2 separate regions of the Homo sapiens genome follow, and region 2 is linked to region 1. Evidence: promoter capture Hi-C in 16 types of primary human blood cells and fetal thymus (Javierre and others, 2016). All regions are on one chromosome and are shown on one strand. Each heading gives the region's core, a stretch centred on a gene start or on the middle of the fragment in contact. The rest is flanking DNA. Distances are from core to core; before and after follow the strand shown.

Evidence for each region. The method cuts DNA at HindIII sites, captures the fragments that hold promoters and counts their contacts. A CHiCAGO score of 5 or more calls a contact.
Region 2: a contact is called between a fragment that was not itself captured here and the fragment with the promoter of FBXL22 in region 1, in 2 of 17 cell types (fetal thymus and naive B cells). The highest score is 5.2, in fetal thymus.

What each region holds. Positions count from the first base shown.
Region 1 is chr15:63,594,675-63,598,861 of GRCh38, reverse strand. It overlaps FBXL22 (F-box and leucine rich repeat protein 22), which reads right to left and starts at 1,475. Exons shown (of 2, transcript NM_001367807.1): 1 at 1,117-1,475. The coding sequence starts at 1,469. It overlaps USP3-AS1 (USP3 antisense RNA 1), which reads left to right. Exons shown (of 3, transcript NR_034080.1): 2 at 4,076-4,167. RefSeq lists an enhancer at 4,107-4,156. The HindIII fragment of the contact is 9,685 bases long and covers 1-4,187 here.
Region 2 is chr15:64,127,750-64,134,859 of GRCh38, reverse strand. SNX1 (sorting nexin 1) reads right to left here. Exons shown (of 15, transcript NM_003099.5): 8 at 7,054-7,110; 9 at 4,831-4,944; 10 at 4,539-4,632; 11 at 2,968-3,173; 12 at 53-196. Among named protein-coding and RNA genes, the nearest start is that of SNX22, 20 kb to the left of the region's middle. The HindIII fragment of the contact is 1,070 bases long and covers 1,895-2,964 here.

The DNA.
Region 1 (4,187 bases), core at 226-2,725:
CCCATGTCACTCTAGTCTAATTCCTGGGCCTTGTTAAGCCCATCAAAATAGCCTTGTCCAGTCGGGGCCCAACCCCAAGTCCATCTTCTGTTTTCTTCCTACCAGCTCAAAAGAAAGGTGGGGTCACTACGCTGTTTCCTTCCACTCCTGTCGTGCTGCCAGCAAATAGCAGCTATGAACTTGGGTGGCAGTAAACTGGCTGAGTCTAGTTTTCCATGAACAGCCAGGGCCAGTTTGTTATATGATCAAGGGGGTGTTTTTCCTCAAAGGCAGCACGGGACTGGCAGAAGCTCAGTGAGAGGCTGGTTGAATAGCTCTGTGTTCTTGCCTGGGCCGCTCTGCCCATGAGGCTGGGACCATGGAGGGAGCCTGGCCTGGTGGTTCAGTGTCTATGTCTGTGTCTGGGGTGGGGGTTAGCAGATAAACACAAGATGTATTTGGGACATACTTACACTAAAATATTATTCACTGTTTATCTGAAATTCATATTTAACTGGGCAGCCTATATATTTGCTAAAATCTGGCAACCCTAGACTGGGCAAATCATACCACCTCGTGGAGCATCAGTTTGCTAATTTGAAAAATTAGGCTAAGCCACCCTCCTTAGGAATACTGTGTAAATCAGTAATTCATCTACTCCTGGAGTCTGGTTTGGCTCAGCTGACCTGAGCACCCTGGCTTCTCCACCTCTGGCTCCCCACCCTCTCTTTCCTCCGTAGTTTCCCAGGCCTTGAGGGCTGCTTGCTAGGCCTAATGGAGGGGTGAGCTGATTGCTGCATCTGGAAGCCTTTTCCCAGAGCCTGACCTTGAAAATCCAGGCCCAGCTGGACCCACCCAGCACTTAATGACTACCAGTACGGAGGCCCCACTTCTTGGTGTTTGCATGAAGCAGCCCAGGACCTGTGAGGCTAAGAGGAGGATTAGCAATTGTTTCCCTCATGATTTTATTGTCTCCTGGGGACCCTGCTTTGGGCGGTCTGGATGTCTGCCTTGGGCCTAGTTTGAGGCGCCCCGAAGGTGGAGCCATCTTGGTCTCGTAATTTGCTCTTCCCTGCCCCCCAAGAGGGAAGCCAGAGCTAGCGGGGCCAGCACTGCTCAGGAGGCAAGGTGGCCTACCTGTCGCACACCCGGAGGAGGAAATCATTGACCAGGCTCTCGTGCCGGCTGCAGATGCTTCTCTGGAAGGCACTCTTGAGCCAGTCCTCAATGCTGCACACCTGCACGCGGCTGGAGTGCCAGCAGATGGAGAGGCTGCGGAGTGCCGGGCCCAGGAGGAAGTTGTCCTTCTGGAGTTCAGTGAGGGAACGGAAGTGCAGCAGGGACCAGAGTGCGGGGTCCTCAAACACGTCGTGGAGCTGGGAGCAGGTCCTGGCAAGGCTCTTCCTGCTGTCCTTGTCTAGGAAGGAGAAGAGGTGCAGCAGGCACTCCCGGTTGAGCTGGGTTATGTGCATGGTGAGCAGTGGCCACATGTGAGTGCAGCTGCAGCCGGGGGACGGCTGACCTGCCTCCTCTCCTCCTCCCCGACTCTGGGCCGGTGGACATATATGGTTGAGGAATGGTGTTTATTTTTGGCTAACAACTGGTGCTGAAGCTCTGCGGAGGGGTGAGGGAAGAAAAGCCAGGACCCAGACACATGTGCGGCAGTCTGTGGTTCGGCTTATGTTCAGAGGGATTGGAGGTCCTGGCAGAAAAGGAGCCTATTGAAGTTACTTTCCTTAAAAGGGATTTTTTTTTTCCCTTTAGCTGACAATGGTGTTTAGCAGTGAGCACTTTTGGCTTTTCCCAAGGCGTTTTCATTGGCAGTGGTGGCGGCCAGGCCAGCTCTGTCTGGCTTTGCAGTCTGTACTTAGGGGGAAGGAGTGTAATTGTAAATGTTAACTGTTTTGATTTTCTAGTACATCAGTGTGAATCTTTTGCTCCACCCTTACTAGGAAGAAACCTGTTGCGTGTGGAGAGCTAAGGGTGACGGTTGTGAGTTGTGAGCAGAGTCCATGGCTGCTGCCTCATTCCTGTTATTTTTGTGCCATAGAGTAATTGTCTCCAGGCTAGGCTGGTTGGCCTTCAAGCCCTGCTGCCTGCCACTAGGCAGGGGGATTTTCCTGGGCCTCCCCAACAGCTAGATTTTTACCCTGAGTTGTTTCATAAAAGAATTTTACTGAAGTAGCTGCTTTCCAAAGTTGTGTGTCTGTGTTTTATGTTTTATTGGTGCTTTGTTGTTGTTGTTGTTGTTTTTGTAGTTTTGGTCAAGCAGTACTTTCTGTGTTTTAAATTTAAATTTACTTGGCTTTACATTTTCTCACTGATAAGGCCTTGTACTATGTATAACCTGTACTTCCCAAAATGTCAGGATGGATGAGGTAGCTCTTAATGTGAAACTGCTTGAAACAATTTTAAGTTCAGTATTTTAGTCCATCTTTGCCTTTAAGTTGACCACACACCATCCATTCTATGAGTGCCCTCCGTTCCCTCTTGGAGAAGCCAGTGGGCCACCCCTGCCCTCTCTGACTCAACTCTAGGCAAGGTGCCTGGAGGTACTATCCGTGAAGCTCCCCCTTCCTGAGTACCCGAGGCTTCACGATATGGCAGACCCGTTTCCTCATGCTGCTTCACTCCCAAACCCAGGACCCAACCTTAACTCTCCTGCTTTGAATCCCAGTCGTTGTTTTTTGGTTTGCTTGGGGGATGCTGATATGGTGCAGCTGTATAGGCCACGTTCTGCCTAGGCAATAGTGAGAAGAGAATGGTTTTTCCTCTGCCAGCCCAGGGACCACCACCTCAGTGGTTACTTCTGTTTGTTCTCCCATTTGGAATAAGAGGGAATGGGAATCCTTGTGTTTTCCCATAGACACAAATGAAGCAGCCTATGCTGAACCCACTTCTGGAACTAAGGTTTGGTCAGGGCTGGTGCAGCTTTGCCTTTAAAGCAGAAGGCAGTCAAGCAAAGAAGGAAGTAGCCATTGTCAGTGGCTTTCCTGAGAAGCCAGCCTCAGCTGGTGCCCCTGTGCCTCCATTACTCCACCATGCCAAGATGAAGTACAGTAGGGGGTTCTCTTAAAAACAAACCAAGGAGGTCGAAAGGAAGCATTTCCCAAGGAAGGGGAGCAAGATACTGCTGCTATTTCAAGCTCATCAATGTAGTTCTGAATTATAGCTGACACCCTAATTTAGGCTCTGTCTAGGTGTACTTCTCCACTTAAAATGGATGCTGCAAAACCACAGGTGGTGTTATTAGAAAGCCACATTATCTCCACTTTCCCTCCCCAATCCTCCTCAAACCAATGCTTTTCAGAGGGTTTGACCCTTAGGAATAGGTGGTTCTTTCCACTTCTTGCAAGGCCAGAGTGGTACTTGTGCCTTCCACTGAGTAAGTGTCACTGTGCTTCAGCATGGCTTCCAAGTTGCACTACTGCAGCCCAGCTGGAATGGCAAAAGATTGGCAGGGAGAACATTTAGAGCATTGCCCCTCTGCTGTTCCTCCAGGTAGGCTGCAGGAAGCATCCTAGACTACCAGGGCCAGGGGGAATGTGCTCCTGCATGCTGCAGAGGGTCTGAGGCACAGCCAGGAGATGACGAAGCTCTGCCCCTTTGGGCTTGTCCAGAGCTATGCTGTTTGGCAGCAGTGACAGCAACCACGCAGCCTCTGACCAGCACAGCTGCCAAAAGAATGTGCCCTACGGAACAAGGATGCATAACAATTTGAGCTGCAGGCACCTGTGTCTTCAATTTTAGAAGACTGACAAGAACAGGCAAAGGATGACTGTGGAAACAGGGTTCTGTCTGCAGGAGGCATGGGGGCAGGGAAGTAGTCTATAGGAACTTACTGTAAACAGGATGTTTATTTAAAAGCACTTATTTGCCTGTTTTACCTTAAAAGATGACCAGTATCCTTTGCTCAGAGCCCCAAAACTAGTGCCTCAGGGTAGAGTCTAGCTCTAAAGGGGAAGGGAAGGGGCCTCATTTTTATAAGATCAATAGTCACAAGAGACTGAGGGTGATTTCACTGGGCAAGGCCGAGTGGGACCTCAGGCACCTGACTGCAGGCACTCATCTCCAGGCCATCACTTTGCCCATACAGGTCACTTCATCCTGGCCCAGGTACTGCAGCTCCAAATCGTGGGGATTCTGTAAGAGCTTGCTACCTGTTGACTGAGGAGGCCCACGAGTTGAGTAAGTACATCATCATTTAT
Region 2 (7,110 bases), core at 1,180-3,679, 540 kb before region 1:
TTCATTTGGAACCAGCAGAACACCCCTGGCTGGGCTGCCTCAGTGGACTCACCTCGAGGATCTCGTCCTTGGCCTGCTGCAGCTTATCAGGCTTGTTGGCCCACAGCAGCCGAGCCTCGGCCTCCCGCTTCTTCTGCAGTGTGGCTTGGGCATCCTGCCAGCGCTGCCATGTCTTCATGCGCTGGTCGAAGGCAGCCTGTGGGGGTGGGGTTGAGGAGGAGCACAACCAGCTCTTCAAGAGCTCTGCTGGCTCTGCCTCGAGGCAGGCTCTCCCAGCAGCTGCACCAGGGACAGACTGAGCAAGGGCAGGTTCTGCAGCCACATGTTAGTGCCCAGCTGGGAAGTTTAATGTCTAGGAGCAAAGCTTGGGTAAGACTCCTCTCCAAGCTTCCAGAAGGCCAGTGCCATGCTGCTTCATGCTACTCCCAGGGCTGGATGGCAGGGATCCAGTAGGTGGCCTCATGCCAGTGACCAATACTATGGCTTACAGAAGTGCCTCCCTCAGATCAGTCAGTTCATAAGGCTACATACTTTCCCTGAGTGCCTGCCATGTGCCAGGAGCTAAGAATACAGTGGATGAAACTCATGGTCCCATTTTCATGGAACTTGTCATCTAATGGAAAAGGCCAACATTACATTTACAATTACAAATAGATACAAGTATGCAGACTACTGGGAAAGCAGCAGGGTACTATAACATGAAACCAGAGGCCTAGCTTAGCCTGGGAAATATGTCAGGGAAGTCCACCCTAAGGACCCAGCCTTTAAACTGACACCCAAATAATGCACAAGGTTAGCTTAACAAATCTTTAAATCAACACCTAAAACCACCATAGGGCCACATTGCTTTTTCCCAACCACACACTCACCTGCTCTAGGCTACCAAGGCCTCCAAGAAGCTCCCCAAAATCTATTTGCTAGTTTTCCTTGTTTCCAGTTCCTTGACCACAATCAGCATTTCCAGGGAAGGAAGCTGCTGGCCTGACTAACCACGCCCACCCGGACTTGCTTAATAGGCCCCAAGCAGCAGCCTGGATCAAGGATCTGTGCCTGGGGCCAGCCGCCCAGCCGGGTTCCAGCGGCTCCCTCACTGCCCTGCAAAAGTTCCCCGAATATTTTCTTTTTAGACGGAGTTTCACTCTTGTCACTCAGGCTGGAGTGCAATGGCGCGATCTTGGCTCACTGCACTGCAACCTCCACCTCCTGGTTTCAAGCGATTCTCCTGCCTCAGCCTCCTGAGTAGCTGGGATTATAGGCACACACCACCACGCCCAGATAATTTTTGTATTTTTAGTAGAGATGGGGTTTCGCCACACTGGCCAGGCTGGTCTCGAACTCCTGACCTCAGGTGATCCATCTGCCTCAGCCTCCCAAAGTGCTGGGATTACAGGCGTGAGCCACCACGCCCCAACCTTCCCTGCATATTGTCTATGCCTCCTCAGCACAGGCTTTTGCCAAAACTTGAACCTTAGGGAATGCAATGCCACCAAATTCACCTGCCCCAGGATTGTCACTGCTGCTACCCTGCAGCATCTTAACACCTCAATGTCAAAAGATTAGGTAAAGGGCAACCTCTTATCTGAGTTAGTTAGACTCAAGCCCAACCCACTGGCCTAACAGTGGTCCGGCTCCATGCTCAGGGAAGAGCAGAAAAGAAACCTTTGCTCTTCTCTCCAATCCCACCACCAGGCTCATAAGCATGAGGTAGGCAGATGAAGGGTCTCTGAGAAAAGACCATTCGCAATTATGTGCCATGAGGCACACTTCCCCAGCCCCAGCCCATGTAGCTCTAAGCAAGGCCCTCACCCCTGTGGTACAAGCTCACTCTGCCTGGGGGCCATATCCAAGAACTGTGCTCTCCAGAGACCCCAAACAATGCTCCTCATAGAAAGCTTCCCCCAGAGGGTGCCCTTCCTGCAGCTGGCTCTCCAGTCTAAGTAGCCTGCCCAGTTCTAAGAATTACATAGCAGGTAGACTCATCACTCTGGAGTTAGCAGCAAACCAAATAGCAATGGGAGAGGACAATGAGCAACCTTCCAGGCTCTATGAGGCATCTCCACCACGGGGTAAGTGACAGCCTGGGAGCAGCTCAGCTCCTGACACAACGCACAAGCTCCCTAATGGGAGATATGTTGGGGACGGGGAACGAGCGGGGGGCACTGTTCTAACTCTGAGGCTCACACATCCTGATCCCAAGCGAAATCAAGGACAGACTTAGGCCCTTAGAGTGTAGGTGCCAGGCTTCCTCTTGGTTCTTTCCTCTGTCTTAGGGAGGCCATGCGACAGCTAATACTACTGTCAAAATTCCTTAACCTTAATCACTAGGAGTGCTCACGGGGAAACCACACTGCTTGATCACCAGGAGAAAGAGTGAGGTGCTTGACGAGGGGCAGGCTGGAATGTTACCAGTGTGGGGTGACACAGCACAGGAAGGCTCTGGTGACAAGCTCTCTCAGTCCCCTGGCCGCACTCCTCCATGCAATGCCAAGCCAGTTCCATGTAGTTACCTGACTGCCCATACTGGAAGGACAAGTGGAAGTCAGCAAGAGCTCTTAACCAGGGCAAAGCCACCAGTTACTGTTAAGGAGGCAAAGACCAAAGGACTGAGGAAGTCACTGCTCCAGGGGACCAAGAGAGTAGGTCTGTAAGCAACCTTGCTTCAAGAAAGGACCACAGAAGACACTGTCTGGCCTCAACAATAAAGGGCAACCTATTCGGAAATTCAAGAGTGGTCTTTTCTCCAAATGCCATCTAGGAATCTTGGCTGTGGGGCTCAAAATGATTCAGTGATAACTAGCTAACAGGTGAATAGATTGCTTGGTTTACAGGATACCTTTCCTCTTAAAAGTAGAAAAAGTGACACCTATTTACAAGCTATAATGGGATGAAACTGTCTTGGGAAGGGGACCAGCAAAGGAAAAACAAATCAAATCAAGGGAAGGAGGAGAAAAGGAAACAGAAGCTTACGCGGACTATGGCCAGGAGGCGAATGTAGTCACTCAGGAGCTCAGCAAGGAGGAAGAAGTCATTGTTGGCCTGTTCCTGGTGGAGCTGCTCAATTTTTTCTTCCACCTCAGCCAGCTGGGAGAGTGCCCGTGACAATGCCGTGTTGTCCTCAGAGCTCCCAAGCATGGCTAGACTCTTTGCAAACTGGGCTGTGTTCAGCGCTAGCTCTGGAAGGAGGAAAAGACAGCAGAGGCCTCTCTGATCTCACAAGGAAAAGGGACAAATCAGCTGACACTGCATGGCATGTCTTAGCAATGCCGCCCACTGCATATCTGGGAACTGAGGGCTCTGCAACCCAGTCACTTACACCACAGTTAACTGTATTCAGAGAGTAAAGAGAATGTGGCCTGGTCACAGGAGCAGGAGGGAGAGGCACCAGCTGTCCTGAGTTTCACTGGGTTAGGCCTACCTGAAGGAAGCAGCTCCAATATCCCTGGAGAACCAAAGCCCAGTTGTTAAATAACAAACAGGCCAAAGAAACTATTCTTATATTTATGTTGAAGCTCATGAGTGGTAGCCTCTCTGTACAAGAGAGAAGAGTGAATACATGTGCACATCGTATAGTCTTGCACGTTCTAGAGTAGGGCAAACTTTGTGTAAAGGAGTGCAGTGGCGCCATCTCAGCTCACTGTAACCTCCGCCTCCCGGGTTCAAGCAATTCTCTGCCTCAGCCTCCCAAGCAGATGGGATTACAGATGCCCACCACCACACCTGGCTAATTTTTTCTATTTTTAGCAGAGACAGGGTTTCACCATCTTGGCCAGGCTGGCCTTGAACTCCTGACCTCGTGACCCACCTGCCTCGGCCTCCCAAATTGCTGGGATTACAGGCGTGAGCCACCGCGACCGGCTAATAATAAATTTTTTAGATTTTGAAGGCTACACATAGTCTGCTACAGATTCTTTTCTCCCCTCATTCATTCCTTTAAAAATGTAAAAACCTAAATTTGTAGCTCATGGCAATAGGAACCAGGGTCAGATTTGGCCCATGGGCCAGATTATACTTTGCCAACCCTTACTTACCCTGGCCTCATGCTATGGGTCTTCTGTCTGTTTCAATTTCTAATTATCAGCATGTTTAAGGCAAAGAGGGAAAAGATTCAAACTGGGAAAATTTCACAAGCTCTTAAGCAAATTTCACTAAAGAGAGATGCAGAAGGATTAGGAGACAGGTGGTTTCCTTGCATTTACGCATTGCTGGTTTGACCATGTAGCTCAAGCATGTATGACATCATTTTGGATGTAAGCCATCAAGTCAAAATCAACAGAAGCCCATATCCCAGGTCATGCTGTATCTGGGATGGCTTCCCTGCACCCCTCCCAGGTAGAAAGCACAATGCCCACAGTGGTTGAATCATGTTTTCTGCCAGGAGACACAGGGCATACCTTTTTTTTATCAGAACATCAAGGACCAGGTGGGCTGAGAATTTCAACTTGGATGGCTGAGAGGATTGGAACAGCATGCCCTCGCATCTCCAGTTCACTAGAGACAACAATTTCCCCTAGCTCCAAGTGCATTTCAGAGCTTGTTACCTTTCCTATGGTTGACTAGAGTTTCTACAACAGCATGCAGTTTCCGTAAGCGCTGCTCCTCACACTCTACCTCCTGGAGCTTCTCCTCAAACCACTGAAACACAAAAGCCCAGAACTTTAATGAGATTACTTTTATGGGTGCAGTACAGTCTTTCTTTAGCAGTTGTTTCTCAAAAAGGGACTGAAAAATCTTATAAAAAAGTTTCTAATCTCAGAAATTTCAGGACTCCTTAGGGGTTCTGACCCATAAGCCTGAGGTGTAGGTGGAGGTAAGAGGCACAGGGCTACTCACAATGTCTGATTCATTCATCTTGATGGTCATTTTGCTGACGGCATCTGTGGCTTTGTTGAACATCTTGAGGAGACCAGCACCACTCAATGTCTGGGTACCCACGGCACGTGGCAGCTACAAGACCAAGAAGGCAGGGATGGCAAGTTATCTGCTGCCCCTATTTTAGGTTCAGAAGAATTAGTATCCATCAGATGGCATGCCAAAACTTGCCAGACAAATTATTTGAACTGTAAATTGTTTTCAAAGGCAGTCTGAGGAATCCACAACTAACATGTCCATACAGAAAAATCAAAGAACCATGTTAAAAAGAATCAGCAACATTTTCAGCTTTTGATATTTTATACAGAAAAAAAGTAGACTGGGGTGTTACGTGGCCAGGTGACCTCAAATTGAGATTGTCTGCCTACCCAGGCATGAACTGCTTAAGTACCAAGCATACTCTTGTTAAAAGTCAAAAGTTCCCTTGGATTAGCACACTTTGTACAAAACCAGACTTAAAAGTCTTAAGACACTGAAATCGTGCTGTGTTCGAATTTTCTTCAGTGAACAAATATCCGAGGACAAGAAAATTATTGATTCAGATCAAGGCTACTTTCAGGGATAACCTAGTAGTCAAGCATGCCAAATATTCAGAAACAATCTGATTGCTGTTCAGTCTCCCCAGTACTCTCCTAGGGCATGGAAAGGACGCTGAAAAATCTATAGCATATACAGCACACTATGCTAAAAAGTCAGATTTTAGTGTTCAGGACTCTATGGCAGTAGTTCTTTTTTTTTTTTTTGAGACGGAGTCTTGCTCTTGTCGCCCAGGCTGGAGTGCAGTGGCACGATCTCAGCTCACGGCAACCTCTGCCTCCAGGGTTCAAGTGATTATCCTGCCTCAGCCTCCCAAGTAGCTGGGATTATAGGTGCCCGCCACCACGACCCGCTAATTTTTGTATTTTTAGTAGAGACAGGATTTTGCCATGTTGGCCAGGCTGGTCTCGAACTCCTGACCTCAGGTGATCCTCCTGCCTCAGCCTCCCAAAGTGCTGGAATTACAGCCAAGAGCCACCGCGCCTGGCCTGGCAGTAGTTCTAAACTTGGGGCCACTTTGCTTCCTAGGGGACATTTGGCAATGTCTGGAGATGATTGTGGTTGTTATAACTGGGGAGGGGGTGCTACCTGGATCTAGTGGGTAGGTACCAGGAATGCTGCTAAAACCCTCTACAATGCATAGGACAACCCCTACAACAAAGAACTATCTGACCCAAAGTGTCCACAGTGCTGCTACAGACATACCCTGCTTAGGGGTATGGAGTAAAGACGAGAGGGTGAAAAGGCAGAAGGGATTTAAGAATATCCACAAGAAAAGACTAAAAGATTTGAAGCATTTGACAGGGAATTTTTAATGAAAACATTTCATTTTAGAGGAGAAAACCCCCTCATTTATTTAGTATCATTTTCTTCACTGGAGTAACACATACTACATACAAATGAAAGAAAAATTTAAAAATAAAAATTAAAGCAAAATGATAGCCCTACCCAGTCACTTACTTCCTTCTAGTTTGCTTTCCTGTGAGATAAAACATTTCACTCCAGTGTTTCTTTTGATCCTTAATGACTTACATGTTTCTACAGCTGTATTTATATGCTATTTCATGTTTCAAATTTTGTAATTCTTTTAACATACATGTCCATGTACTAACATTTCTGTATACTTTGTTTATGATGAGAATCAAGTATTTGGTTATATTGATATATTTTACTTAATTCTTCCACTGTTAGCAATTGGGCTGTTTTCAGTTTTTGACAATCATGACTAGCCTACGCATAGCCTGTGAAAGAGACTGTCTACTTCAATCAACACTTTTCCTACATGGTAGTTCTGTGGTTTGTGGTAACTGTTAACCAGTGACCCGCCTGGCATAAAATATACATTCAATCTGAGCCAAGAAGTAACCTACAACATGCCAAGGACCTGCCAAATAGATCACTGTGTTGATCCAGTAAGACAATACTAGGCTGCTATTTGACCCTTACAACCAACTGCTTTTGACTTCGGGCAGAGCTTCTTTTATTTCAAAGGCTGAAAAATACTTGTCACTCTCAGGGGTTCACACAAAACTAGGATACAGTCTAGTACTAGGCATGTTAAGTGCTCACATATTTTTGGAATGAACTAGTTTCGTTTCACTAGGGGCAGATATAAATTATGAAATTCAGTTTGCACTGAATACTAACCTCTTCTTTTTCCAAGAACTCTCTGACGTCAGGGTCCTGTAACATGGTAGGATGATT